Linked DNA regions of Homo sapiens: regions 1 and 2 are each linked to region 3. Evidence: promoter capture Hi-C in 16 types of primary human blood cells and fetal thymus (Javierre and others, 2016). All regions are on one chromosome and are shown on one strand. Each heading gives the region's core, a stretch centred on a gene start or on the middle of the fragment in contact. The rest is flanking DNA. Distances are from core to core; before and after follow the strand shown. Region 1 overlaps PKHD1L1 (PKHD1 like 1). Region 2 overlaps NUDCD1 (NudC domain containing 1). Region 3 holds the start of SYBU (syntabulin).

Evidence for each region. The method cuts DNA at HindIII sites, captures the fragments that hold promoters and counts their contacts. A CHiCAGO score of 5 or more calls a contact.
Region 1: a fragment that was not itself captured here is called in contact with the fragment with the promoter of SYBU in region 3 in 1 of 17 cell types (total B cells); the score reaches 7.6 in total B cells.
Region 2: a fragment that was not itself captured here is called in contact with the fragment with the promoter of SYBU in region 3 in 3 of 17 cell types (total B cells, naive B cells and naive CD4 T cells); the score reaches 6.8 in total B cells.

The regions. Positions count from the first base shown.
Region 1 is chr8:109,383,236-109,387,078 of GRCh38, forward strand. It overlaps PKHD1L1 (PKHD1 like 1), which reads left to right. Exons shown (of 78, transcript NM_177531.6): 5 at 835-892; 6 at 2,302-2,395. Among named protein-coding and RNA genes, the nearest start is that of PKHD1L1, 23 kb to the left of the region's middle. The HindIII fragment of the contact is 2,397 bases long and covers 377-2,773 here.
Region 2 is chr8:109,315,959-109,319,831 of GRCh38, forward strand. The region is part of intron 2 of NUDCD1 (NudC domain containing 1); the gene reads right to left. Among named protein-coding and RNA genes, the nearest start is that of NUDCD1, 16 kb to the right of the region's middle. The HindIII fragment of the contact is 2,539 bases long and covers 1,032-3,570 here.
Region 3 is chr8:109,643,420-109,647,091 of GRCh38, forward strand. It overlaps SYBU (syntabulin), which reads right to left and starts at 1,403. Exons shown (of 7, transcript NM_001099754.2): 1 at 1,217-1,403. The coding sequence starts at 1,240. It overlaps SYBU-AS1 (SYBU antisense RNA 1), which reads left to right and starts at 710. Exons shown (of 2, transcript NR_161375.1): 1 at 710-803; 2 at 1,699-3,672. RefSeq lists a silencer at 1,168-1,657 and enhancers at 1,170-2,106, 1,768-2,087. The HindIII fragment of the contact is 4,274 bases long and covers 1-3,672 here.

The sequences.
Region 1 (3,843 bases), core at 325-2,824, 260 kb before region 3:
TATATATAACATATATAATAGATAATTATATAATATATAATAGAATTATATATTATGTATAATTATACAATTATACATAATATATAATTAATATTATATATAATATATATTTTATATTATATATTATAATATATTATATAGTATGTATATTATATATTATATATTACGTATAATTATATATTATATATAATATATAATATATAAATATATTATAAGTATATATAATATATAAATATATATAAAACTATTTTTATATAAATATTTATATATAAATAGTTTATATATATTAGTTTTAAGTTGTCAATTACTGAGTAGTACAATGTTCTAATATAAGATGAAATACTGAAGAAAACAATAATGACATCTGTCTTCAAGAAGCTTCTATGATTCCAAAATATATTGCCAAATACGATTCCCAGATATCTCTGGCTTTCTTCTGTTTCCCCAGACGTGGAACTCTGTTTGGTTTTCTGGTATGTCACACCTAAATGGTCTTAAAGCGACCTAAATTGAGCATCAAACTGCAGTTTTTGTATTCCTCCTTAAATCTACTTTTTCTCTGATTATTTCTCACCATCTCAAGTTAGAAACCTGTTACCATTCTTGGTTTCTCTCTCCCTTCTCTTTCAGCCCCACAGCTATTAAGAAGCAAAACCACGATGATCCTATCCTCTAATTTAACTCTTAGGTTCATCTTATTTAAATATCTTCTTTCCTACATGACAGTTACATTATGAATATTGTTGAAATTTAGTAATGTAAGAAATTATCTATTTCACAAAACTAGAAACAAAACAGAGATAAGTTTTCATATTGACATTATTCTTTTTACAGGCAAAAAGTTTTAGAACCCCAACAATAAGAAGCATCACACCTTTATCTGGAACTCCAGGTCTGTTATATGACATCTGAAATAACTTTTGGTTTCATGGTAAATAATGTGTTTATTTTTTAGTATATGAAATTAGTATAATTCCTGCAATTTTTAAATAGCATTTTTTTCATTATAAAAATAACTATCAGCCAGGCGCGGTGGCTCATGCCTGCAATCTCAGCATTTGGGGAGGCCAAAATGCAAGAATTCCTCGAGCCCAAGAGTTTGAGACCAGCCTGGGCAACATCATGAGACCCTCTCTCTAAAAAATAAAAATAAATAAATTAGCCAGGCTTGGTGGCAAGCACCTTTAGTCCCAGCTACTCCGGAGGCTGAGGCGAGAGGATCACTTGAGCCCAGGAGTGTGAGGCTGCAGTGAGACATGATTGAACTTACATGACAGAGCAAGATCCTATCTGAAAAAAAAGAAAAAAGTACCAATATTTTAAAAAATTGATTTTCAATGGCTATATCTTCATCTACTATAATGTATTTATCACCTCCCACCCCCACCACTTATACATTCAACTGGTTTCCAGGGTTTCATTATAATAACTATATTATTCCAGTTTATAATCCCAATGGCAATAACAGAGAATGTATAACCTTGACAATTCTAGGTACTATTTTTTCAAGAATTAATATACAAGATACAGTAGTTTTAAATTTTTTTCCAACTCTTTAATTTATGTAATTAAACTTATTTTTTGCCTATTGACCATTTGTATTCCTTCTTTTATACATTACCTGTTTATCTCTTTGGCTTAATTTAAAGTTATTCACCATTTTTCTTATTAAGTTACAAGGATTCTTTATATATCCTTAAAAAAGGATATTAACCATTTATATGTTATATGTAAGACATATATTTTGAATTTATCATTTACTTTTAAAACATGTTAATGATTTTTCTGTCATCAGACAACCTTTTATTTTTATTATCACATCTATAGATCTTAACGTTTGTTGTTTTTTCTTCATTTTTAAATAGCATTTAAAAATGGGTGGGAGGCCCTACTAACCTAACTATATAAATATTATATAAATTTTCACCTATTTTTCAATAATTGTTATGGTTTTATTTTTTATATTTCATTTTTATTTCACCTAAGATTTCTCTTACTTTTTGGTACAGAGATCTTTTTTTTTTTTTTCTCAAATAGTCACCGATTGACCCAAGCTGTACTTGTGGAATACCATCCTGTCTTCTATGCTACACTTCTTTACTCAATGAATATTTACAGATACTCATTCATATTTTATTGTGTTTGCTAGAACTTTCAGAACAATGCTAAACAATAGTGGCAAACATGAGGTATAAGTGTCTGGGTCCTGGTTTTATTGGGAAAATCTCTTATGTTTTCGTATTAAGTGTATGGATAGATTTTCTTACACAGAATCTTTTTGGGGTTTTTGTTTGTTTTCAGGTACACTAATAACAATCCAAGGCAGAATCTTCACTGATGTCTATGGAAGTAATATTGCACTAAGCTCAAATGGGAAAAATGTTAGGATTTTGAGGTAATCTTTTGATGTGGAAATATATTCTTATAACTCATAAATGAGAAGTAATATTATAAAAATAATGGGTCCAATGATATTAAATCCCATTACAATGTAATATAACTAACCAGTGTTTTTTTTTTCAGCCATATTATAGAAAGTAAAACAGACTATTGGAAGATTCATTGACACAAAAGCAATGGTCGATATGTCATTCTTTTTTGGTCTGGTGTAATTTCTTATTGTTTTGTGATGGATTTATTAACAGAAGAAACACACAGACAAGTCCAATAGTAATTGAGTTATAGTCATACAACTTTATTACTAGAGGTCTTTATTACTTAATCTAACTGTCTCATTTTGTGTATAAAAACACCTGAGGCCTAGAGATCACAAAGCTTAGTCAGGGTCAGGAGTAGAACACAGTCTCGTAACACAGTTTTGACACATTTTCTACTGCTTCATGATGTACAGGCAAGTGCTGAAACCAAACATTGTCAATAACTCATTAACAGGCCAAGCTTTGAATCCTGTTTTGTCCATTTGCCAGCTGTGAACTAGATAGTAACCTTGGCTAGTTAGCTAATGTCAAAAAAATAATTGTCCACATTTTGGACTAAAAACTAGCGTTGTCACTAGAGTTTCCTCCTGTAGCATAGATGGTGTTATTTCAGTCCTGCCTTTAAAGACTGAAAGTCCTGTTTATTTCCTACAGAAAAAAGTGTAGACTCATGATTATGGCTTTCAAGATATTTTATGTTTATCAAACTCATGCATAAAACAGGTAAATGGATAAGTTAAACAATTCAGATAGACACTCAGCAATTAGAGAATTTTTTGAATGCTGTAAAGGTGAGGTATATATACACACACATACAAATACATAATTTTGTAAAACAAGCAATTTAAAAGGTTTTAATGAGTGAAATAAAGATTTATCTGGAATTCTATAGAATAGAACCTTTAATTAAATCACATTTGTATGCATCTATAATTTCTGAAAATATTCATACTAATTCCTTATGTGTAATAAAAGAACTTCCAAGTAGAGATATTTAACATTTTATATGTACAGATTAGTAGAAGTAAAAATTTTGTCTGCTTCAACATAGTTGAGCATTAGGAATGGTTTATATTCTAATTCTTAGACAGGTTTTTCTAAGTCATCCGTTCCCATAATGAAGCCAGGAAATAGAAAGTTTAACTTTCAAAAAGAGATTCCTTTTTTCCCCCACTGAAACTGGAATTTATTTCTGCTTAATATAAAGATTTGGATGGAAATTATTCCATGAAATCACAGAATTGCAGTGAGATGGGACATTAGAGGTCGGGCTACCTAATCCTTGTACTTTGGAAATCCTGAGCTATTATATGTAAATATAGAATTTTTTCACACATCTATTAATGTTTGGGCAAGAAAGTCTTGGAGCTGCATTTGTCTCATTTCTCCCATGTTAATTATGATA
Region 2 (3,873 bases), core at 1,051-3,550, 330 kb before region 3:
ACATATATTCTTACAAATGAAATCCAGTAACTGCCCCTTAGACCTTTAAGTACAAATTAAAGAGGCACTATAAGATGACACTCTTTTAGTAACAGAAACAAATTAGCTTTTCAGGTAAATACAAAACAAATTATTACAGAAATAATTTCCTAAATATTAAGAAACGGAACACATTACTTTAAAATAAGCCATAATATATAAAATAAGGATGTATTAAAAAACCAAAGTTTAAACACATTTTTGCTTTCCCAAGGCATTTTCTACTTCCTTAGCACACTTCTTTCCGAGGGACATTTCCCTAAAATTAAGGACTGTAAACCTACAAGTTAAACTTTTTTGTAAGGAGAGTATTCTGTCTTTATAAACCAGTATGTAGACCTGCTGCCACCTGTTGGCTCCAGACAGTCTGAAGACCTAGCAACCTATGGCTTTCAAGTGTTGGGTCCCATAGCATTCACTTTTACTACAACAGTTCAGGTTTAACAAAGGTGGTCATTTGTACATCAGTCACAGAAAAGGAGCCTGTCTAGGATTTGTGCACGTGTGCCTTTGATGAAAACAAAAGAAAACAAAAAAAATTATTAAACAATAAAATGGATATTGGAAGAGCTGTTTTCTGCTATAAGCCAATAGTCTAGTTAGTGGTCAACATTCTCTACCTGCCTGCACCTGACAGAAACTCAGAGTAGGTTGATTTCATTTGTTGCTGATGAGAAAAATAATAAAAAATAAGTGTAGTATTCTTCTGTATCCCAGGTACAAAATTTCTTAATACCTGGTCATCCCTGGACCACAAGCAAAACCACCTGAGGTGCTTGATAAAATGCAGGTTCCCAGTCCATGACCAACCCTGACAATAATGAATCAGAATTTTGGGAAATGGTACCTTGAAATTAGTTTTTGTTTTGATCAATTACTCCACAATTATTCCAAGGTACAATATGGTCTGAGAACCAAAGAAAATTAAGCAGAAAACAAGCTTTAAGAACCTAAAACATGGTTCTTTAAAAATAAACTAATACCTTTCCTAAAGCTTGATTAGGTAAAAAGAGGAAAAATATAGAAAGGAAAGAGAAAAGACAACAATAATCTTAAGAGCATAACGCATGCAACTTTATAGCAGCATATTTGGAAACCTAAGAGGAAACTGATGGTTTCCTCTAATAAAAATACATATTACAAAATTACCCTAGAAACACACTTTGAATAAACCCATTACTGCACAAAAAACTGAACAGGTGATTAGAGAACTGGCACTGAAAATGATAATAGAGACCAGGAGCAGTTGCTCATGCCTGTAATCCTCCAGCACTTTGGGAGACTGAGGCAGGCGGATCTCTGGAGCCTAGGGGTTCAAAACCAGCCTGGGCAACATGGTGAAACTCTGTCTCTATTAACACATAATATCCGTCTCTATTAACAAGAAATAAGGAGAACTGGTAGAGCACTGTGGCATTCTGGAATAAATGAGTTTAAATCCAGACTCTTACAAACATCCTATGCCTCAGTTTCCTCAACTGTAAGATGTGGATAATAATAGTATCTGGTATATCAGGATAATATCAGGATATTATCCTATGAGAAAGGATCCACAGGATCCATTGTTCTGTGGATTAAACAGTTAGTACGTGTAAAGTGTTTAGAATTGTTCCTGATATGTAATAATCTCTATGCAATAAAAGTTACCTGACATTATGATTTATTCTTATCATACAGTTCTACTGCTCTCAAAGAAGGAATATGTGCAAAAAAAACTAGCCAGTGTTTGTCTCCCATAAAGTGATACCCCAAGGCATATGCCAGTAATATCTCTTTATATTTGCATAATGCCTTCCACTTTTCAAAGCATTTTCACACACCTTGCTTTAACGTCTAAAAAACCTTATCATTATTCTTATTTTCTATGAAACTGAAGCCAAGGATATATGGAGACTGCTGTACCCTTTTTGTCAGCTACATATTACCATGTAATAGTTACCTGTACACTCATATTAGCACCTAAAAAGTATAACATATAAGTTACCTGAACTTATATGTAGAAGTATAAGTACTTGAACATGTTAAAAATAATGGTAAAACAGTTTTTATTTTTGCACCAACCTATACATTAGTGTCCTACACAGAGCAGGTTTTCAATAAACACGTTAAAATGAACTCATTTGGTAAGTCTGTCTTAAATGTCTAGTTTCCTTTTGACCAACTACCCTACCTCCCTAACAACACGTATTAGAGCTACATTACATGTGCCACAAGATATCTATGGAAAAGTAAAATAGATTATGAATATGGATGGTACTACAAAAATTAACACTTTCAGATCTACCATAATGTCATCTGACTTCGAGTCAGAAAATTGGTAGAATAAATGTTATTGGCAAACTTTATGGTACAGCAAATGCTATCAACAAATGCCCTATTTGTTAACACAAAAAGGATTAAGGAAAAACTTTCATGCACATACACACAGAACTCTACATCAAAATCTATTTGATCATTAAAATTTATTTGATCAGAGAGATCAGAGCATAGCCACTCATAAAAATGCATGTCCTATCACTTTAGTTGGCTTATACACATTGGGCCTAGATAGTAATCCTTAGTAGAACATGGGGCTAGCAAGAAAAAGCAACTAATATCTAAGAGTAAGAGGCCAGATTGCATTCCTCTGATCCAACAAGAAACAATCAGAATTTTACACTATCTGTTTTAGGAGTCACCTGAAGGAAAATATTTATTACCAGGAAATGTCTAACTCCTTTCTGAACATTTTGAGATAAACACTGCATTGCCAATACAGAACTCATACCTACACTTGGATTAGAAATAACAGGAGGAAGACCCTATTCCAAAGCCAACTCCCAACAGTAATAATGAACTTTACACAGCTATTATCCATTCAACAAATATACTGATCAAGCCTTCTGCTGGGTGCTAGAACCCATGGCCTCGTCCAGTGGGTGGCAAACTATAGTCCACAGGCCAATTCCTGCCCATTTTATGTTTTTTTTTTTTTTTTTGAGACGGACTCTTGCTCTGTGGCCCAGGCTGGAGTGCAGTGGTGCGATCTTGGCTCACTGCAAGCTCTGCTCACTGCAAGCTCTGCCTCCCAGGTTCACGCCATTCTCCTGCCTCAGCCTCCTGAGTAGCTGGGACTACAGGGACCTGCCACCACGCCTGGCTAATTTTTTGTATTTTTAGTAGAGACAGGGTTTCATCGTGTCAGCCAGGATGGTCTCGATCTCCTAACCTCATGATCCGCCCGCCTCTGCCTCCCAAAGTGCTGGGATTACAGGCGTGAGCCACCGCGCTCGGCCCATTTTATGTTTTTGTAAATAAAGGTTAATTGGAACACGGCCACACTCACTTGCTTATAAACTGTCTATGGCTGATTTCACACTACAACAGCAAAAGCGAGCAACAAGAGACTATCTGGCCCACAAAGCCTAAATTAGCTGGCCTTGTGCAGAAAAGCGTATCAACCTCTAGAATAGAAGAAATTCACAGCACATGTAGATTTGAGAGCCAATGGTGTGAATATTCCTAGGGGAACAGAGGTAAGATGTCAAGGCAAGCTTGCTAGATGACAAAATGGTTACCTAGGACTTAAGTAAAGATTGCAAAGCAGACTGACACTGAATTAAAAGTATGCTCCAGGTAGTTAATCAATGAGAAAAGGACCAGAAGAAATAGGATACAGCACATGTCTCAGGAACTGCAAGAGTTTAGTATGGCTAGAATGTAGTATACAAAGTGCTGTAAGACAAGGTTGGAGAAAACTCGGCATATAAACGTATATGCAAAGATGAAAAGTTTATTTTAAGAATATATATCATTTCATCAGGGAGCCTGCCCCAATATTCACCTAGGTTCTTT
Region 3 (3,672 bases), core at 153-2,652:
TCCTGATAGCTCACACACAATTATCTTTAAAATCCCTCCTCTTCTGGACAGGATCTTAATTATTCGTTAATATCCTGGTACACAAGGCTTGTTGCCAACAGAAAAGCAAACACAAATCCGATACTCGGGAAGATGGCTCCACCTTTTACATCATCTTTAATTTTTGTTTTCCTTACAGGACATCCATAAGAAGAGATTTTTCTTTCTCCTTAAAAACGCAGCATGAAGTACCCTGCCATTTCGTGGTTTTAAAAATGCGTAACAGTAATATTTTCACAATGTTTTCCAACTTATAAAGTGCTTTTCCAACCATTTTCTCATTTGATCTTTACACACCAGACTGTACATAGAGAGCACACCAATGAATGTCCCTATTTTCAGATGAGGAAACAGGCTAAATGGGGTAGAGATGCTTAGGCAATTCTGCACACCATGCCAGAAGTAGAACGAAATTCAAATCCAGTGCTTTGCAGGGTCACCACCACCCTGCCTTATGAAAATGGATTCCTAGGAGGAGCGTTTTGCAAAAATTCCACTGCTTCCTCCAACCTCTGCCACTGAAAGGGACTCTTTGGCTTAGGTAACAAACACCCTTTCGAAACATGACCTACTGTTCCTTCCACCGGCTTACCAGGAAGGGTCACGGCCAAAATAAACACCTCTGGGAGGCCGGCACATGGCATAAATTGAAGGGTAAACCTCAGCAATGGGGAACTTCGGAGGGCCCTCAGGCATCCACTCTACCCGGGGGCCGCCAGCCGCACGCAGCCTCGGATTCGCCCTGCACATCTGCCGCCCAGCAGGTACCATGCGCCAGCCACTCCGCCGGGCACACCGCAGACCCTGAGCTAAGGCAGGGTCACTGACACGCGGGAGTCCTCTTTTCCCAGTCGCGGATGCATCAAATTCCTTTCATTCACATCACACACACAGGATATCAACTGAAAGCTACACCCCACAGTCCCAGTTTCAGGAGGTGGGATTAACCCTCCAATCATGTCATTCTCCAAAATCTATTCCTCCAGTACCACCTCCCCATCTCCTGGATCTCAACTCCTAAGCAATGCCTCCTGCCTTCTCCAGACCCCACCACCACCTCCTTCCACCTTTCCCCAGACTCTAAATGTCACCCCTCCAGCTCTCATCCCGCCGCTTCTCGCCCCGCAGTGCCCGCCTTCCCCGCCCTCCAGTGCCCGCACTGCCCCGCGCTCCTTACCTTGCTCTCGCGGAGGGGCCCCATCGCGCCGCTGCCCGCCGGCTCCTCGCGCCGCCGCTGCCGCCGTCCAGGAGGAGGCACCTGCGAGCACGGAGCGAGGAGACTGCGCTGAGCCGGCGCGGGCTGCGGGCGGCGGCTCTTGGTGAGGCTCCAACGCGCCGCCGCCGCCACTGCCGCCGATTGCTCTGGGCTCCGAGGGCACGCCCGACCCCGCCCCGGCCGGACACGTGGTGCCGCACTCGCTAGAGGCAGCTCCTGGGGCGCCTCCCACGCCCTCCCTCACCTGCGGCCTTCGGGGCAACTCGACCGCGCCTGGGCGCGCCCCACCCGCCCGATTTCCCCACGGCACTCCGCGCCCCCCCAGCCAGAGCCGGTGTCCCTCCCTCTCCAAGGAGCTCGGCCCGGTGTAGGCAGGCTGCGGCTAGCGGCATCTCCAGCCCAGGGGTGACCCCACCCTCTTTTTTTTTTGCACTTGATCTCAGGTTTGAAGTGGGTGGCGTTGGATGGAGTGACTGAGAAAAGCTGCGACATCACAGAGAGACAAAATAGAGAAAGTTTTCCCCTGGCCACCCCTCCTTGGCCTCCAGGTCTTAAGTCAGCCTACAGCTCCCCACAACTGCCTCGCCCGAGAGCTGCAGAGATCCCTCTCGTACCGGAGCCCAGCCAAGCCAGTGCGTCAGGACCGACACAGCCTCTGGGTTCCGGGATCTGAAAGGCTGCGATGGATTCTACTTGGAAGGGGTTGCATCAGAAAGGCCTTCAGTGGTCAGCGCAGCTCCCTCCGGCTTGGAGAAGCCAGGCTGCTATGTAGCCAGAGAACAGTCTTTTCCCCAGCGCTGCCCTGCAGCTGCCCGGCTCCAGGAAGTAGCTCCAGCACACTGCTAAGGGAAGAGCACTGGAATTGAACTCAGAAAAACGAGTTCAAGCCAGCACTCCAATCGGTCCCTTCAGCCTGAGTGCCTTTATGCCTAAAGTTTTTGTTGTTGTTTCGTTTTTTGTTTTTTTTTTTTTCCGTTGCTGTTGAAACGGCATCTCGTTCTGTGGCCCAGGCTGTAGTACAGTGGCGCGATCAGGGCTCACTGCAACCTCTAACTCCTGGGATCAAGGGATCATCCCGTCCAGGCCTCTCAAAGTGCTCGAATTACATGCGGATGCCATTGCATGCGTGGCCTACGCCTACGGTTCTTGACCCTTCTGAACTTCAAATTTACCCTTGTTAAATTGAGGGATAATAATAGTGATACCTACCTCTAGGATAGCTGTGAGGGTTAGGTGAGGAAAACAAACAGCTCTATCCAGCTGATTGAACAGAACTTTCCAAAGGGCAGCTAAGTCAGGTCCAGATGATCCAGTCAATATTTGTTGATGCCTTTTACATGACAGGCAGAAAAAGCATTTGTGATGCACACAAATTTGTTTAAGAAAGCTCGAAAATCTGTCCAACTGGGGACTTAGAATAGGGTACATCAGCTGGGCCAAGGGCCTTGATTTATTACAATTGCTACCCTTAAATCTTATCTGGTGGTGGAATTCACCATGTATAATGACTTATATACCCTTTATTCAGAATTGGAGAATATTCCAAGCAGTGCGACACTCTGATCCTTATGCACCAGTGTCCTACATAGGAGGACTGTGCTCCTCGAAAACTGAGGGTCATTGTCCCCTTTCATCCATCCTCCAAACAGCATTTCTGAGTCCTCAACTCTCAAGCCTAAGAATATATGTTGTGAGTCTAGAGAGAGCCTGAAGCCAGAGGATTAGTGGAATCAATTTCCCTTCTTCCTATAACTCCAAAAGAGAGCTTCCTCCATAAATCTTCATGCCTTTTCAATCTACTTAGCTCTCTCAAGCAGTGAGGTTGGTAATTTTAAGATTCTTTATTTGGGAAGAAGAGGTGATTAATTCATACTTTCTACACCCACAGCTGTTTCAAATATGGACCTCAGGAAAGTGATGGTCCAGGATGATTCATACAACTTATTATTCCTAAAATTATGAGCCTGGGATCATATACTGTGAGATAAGAACAAACTTTTAAAGTTAATGGATGCTTCTGAGTTCCCTACTTAGAATTGAGAATTGACACTGGGGACCTAATAGCAGAAACACCCTCCACTGAGTTAGCCAAGTCAGAACCTCAGTGTCATCGTGGACTTTTTTCTCTCATTCACCTGACCCACACATAGCATAAACCACCAAGTGATCTCTATGCCACCCAAGTAATAACGGTCTTGAATCTGATTACTTCTGTCCACTATTTGTCTCCATTATCTTCGTGTAGAGTGTAAACCACAGTCACCCTAGATTATTGCAATAGTGGTCTAACTCAAGGTCTCTTGCTTTCAGCCTTGCCTCTTATTCCTTTCTCTCCGATCAGTGTCTCCATTTTTCCACAAGCCTTTATGAAAAGCTAAATCAAGTCATGCTTCTCCGTGAAAACTCATTAATGATTT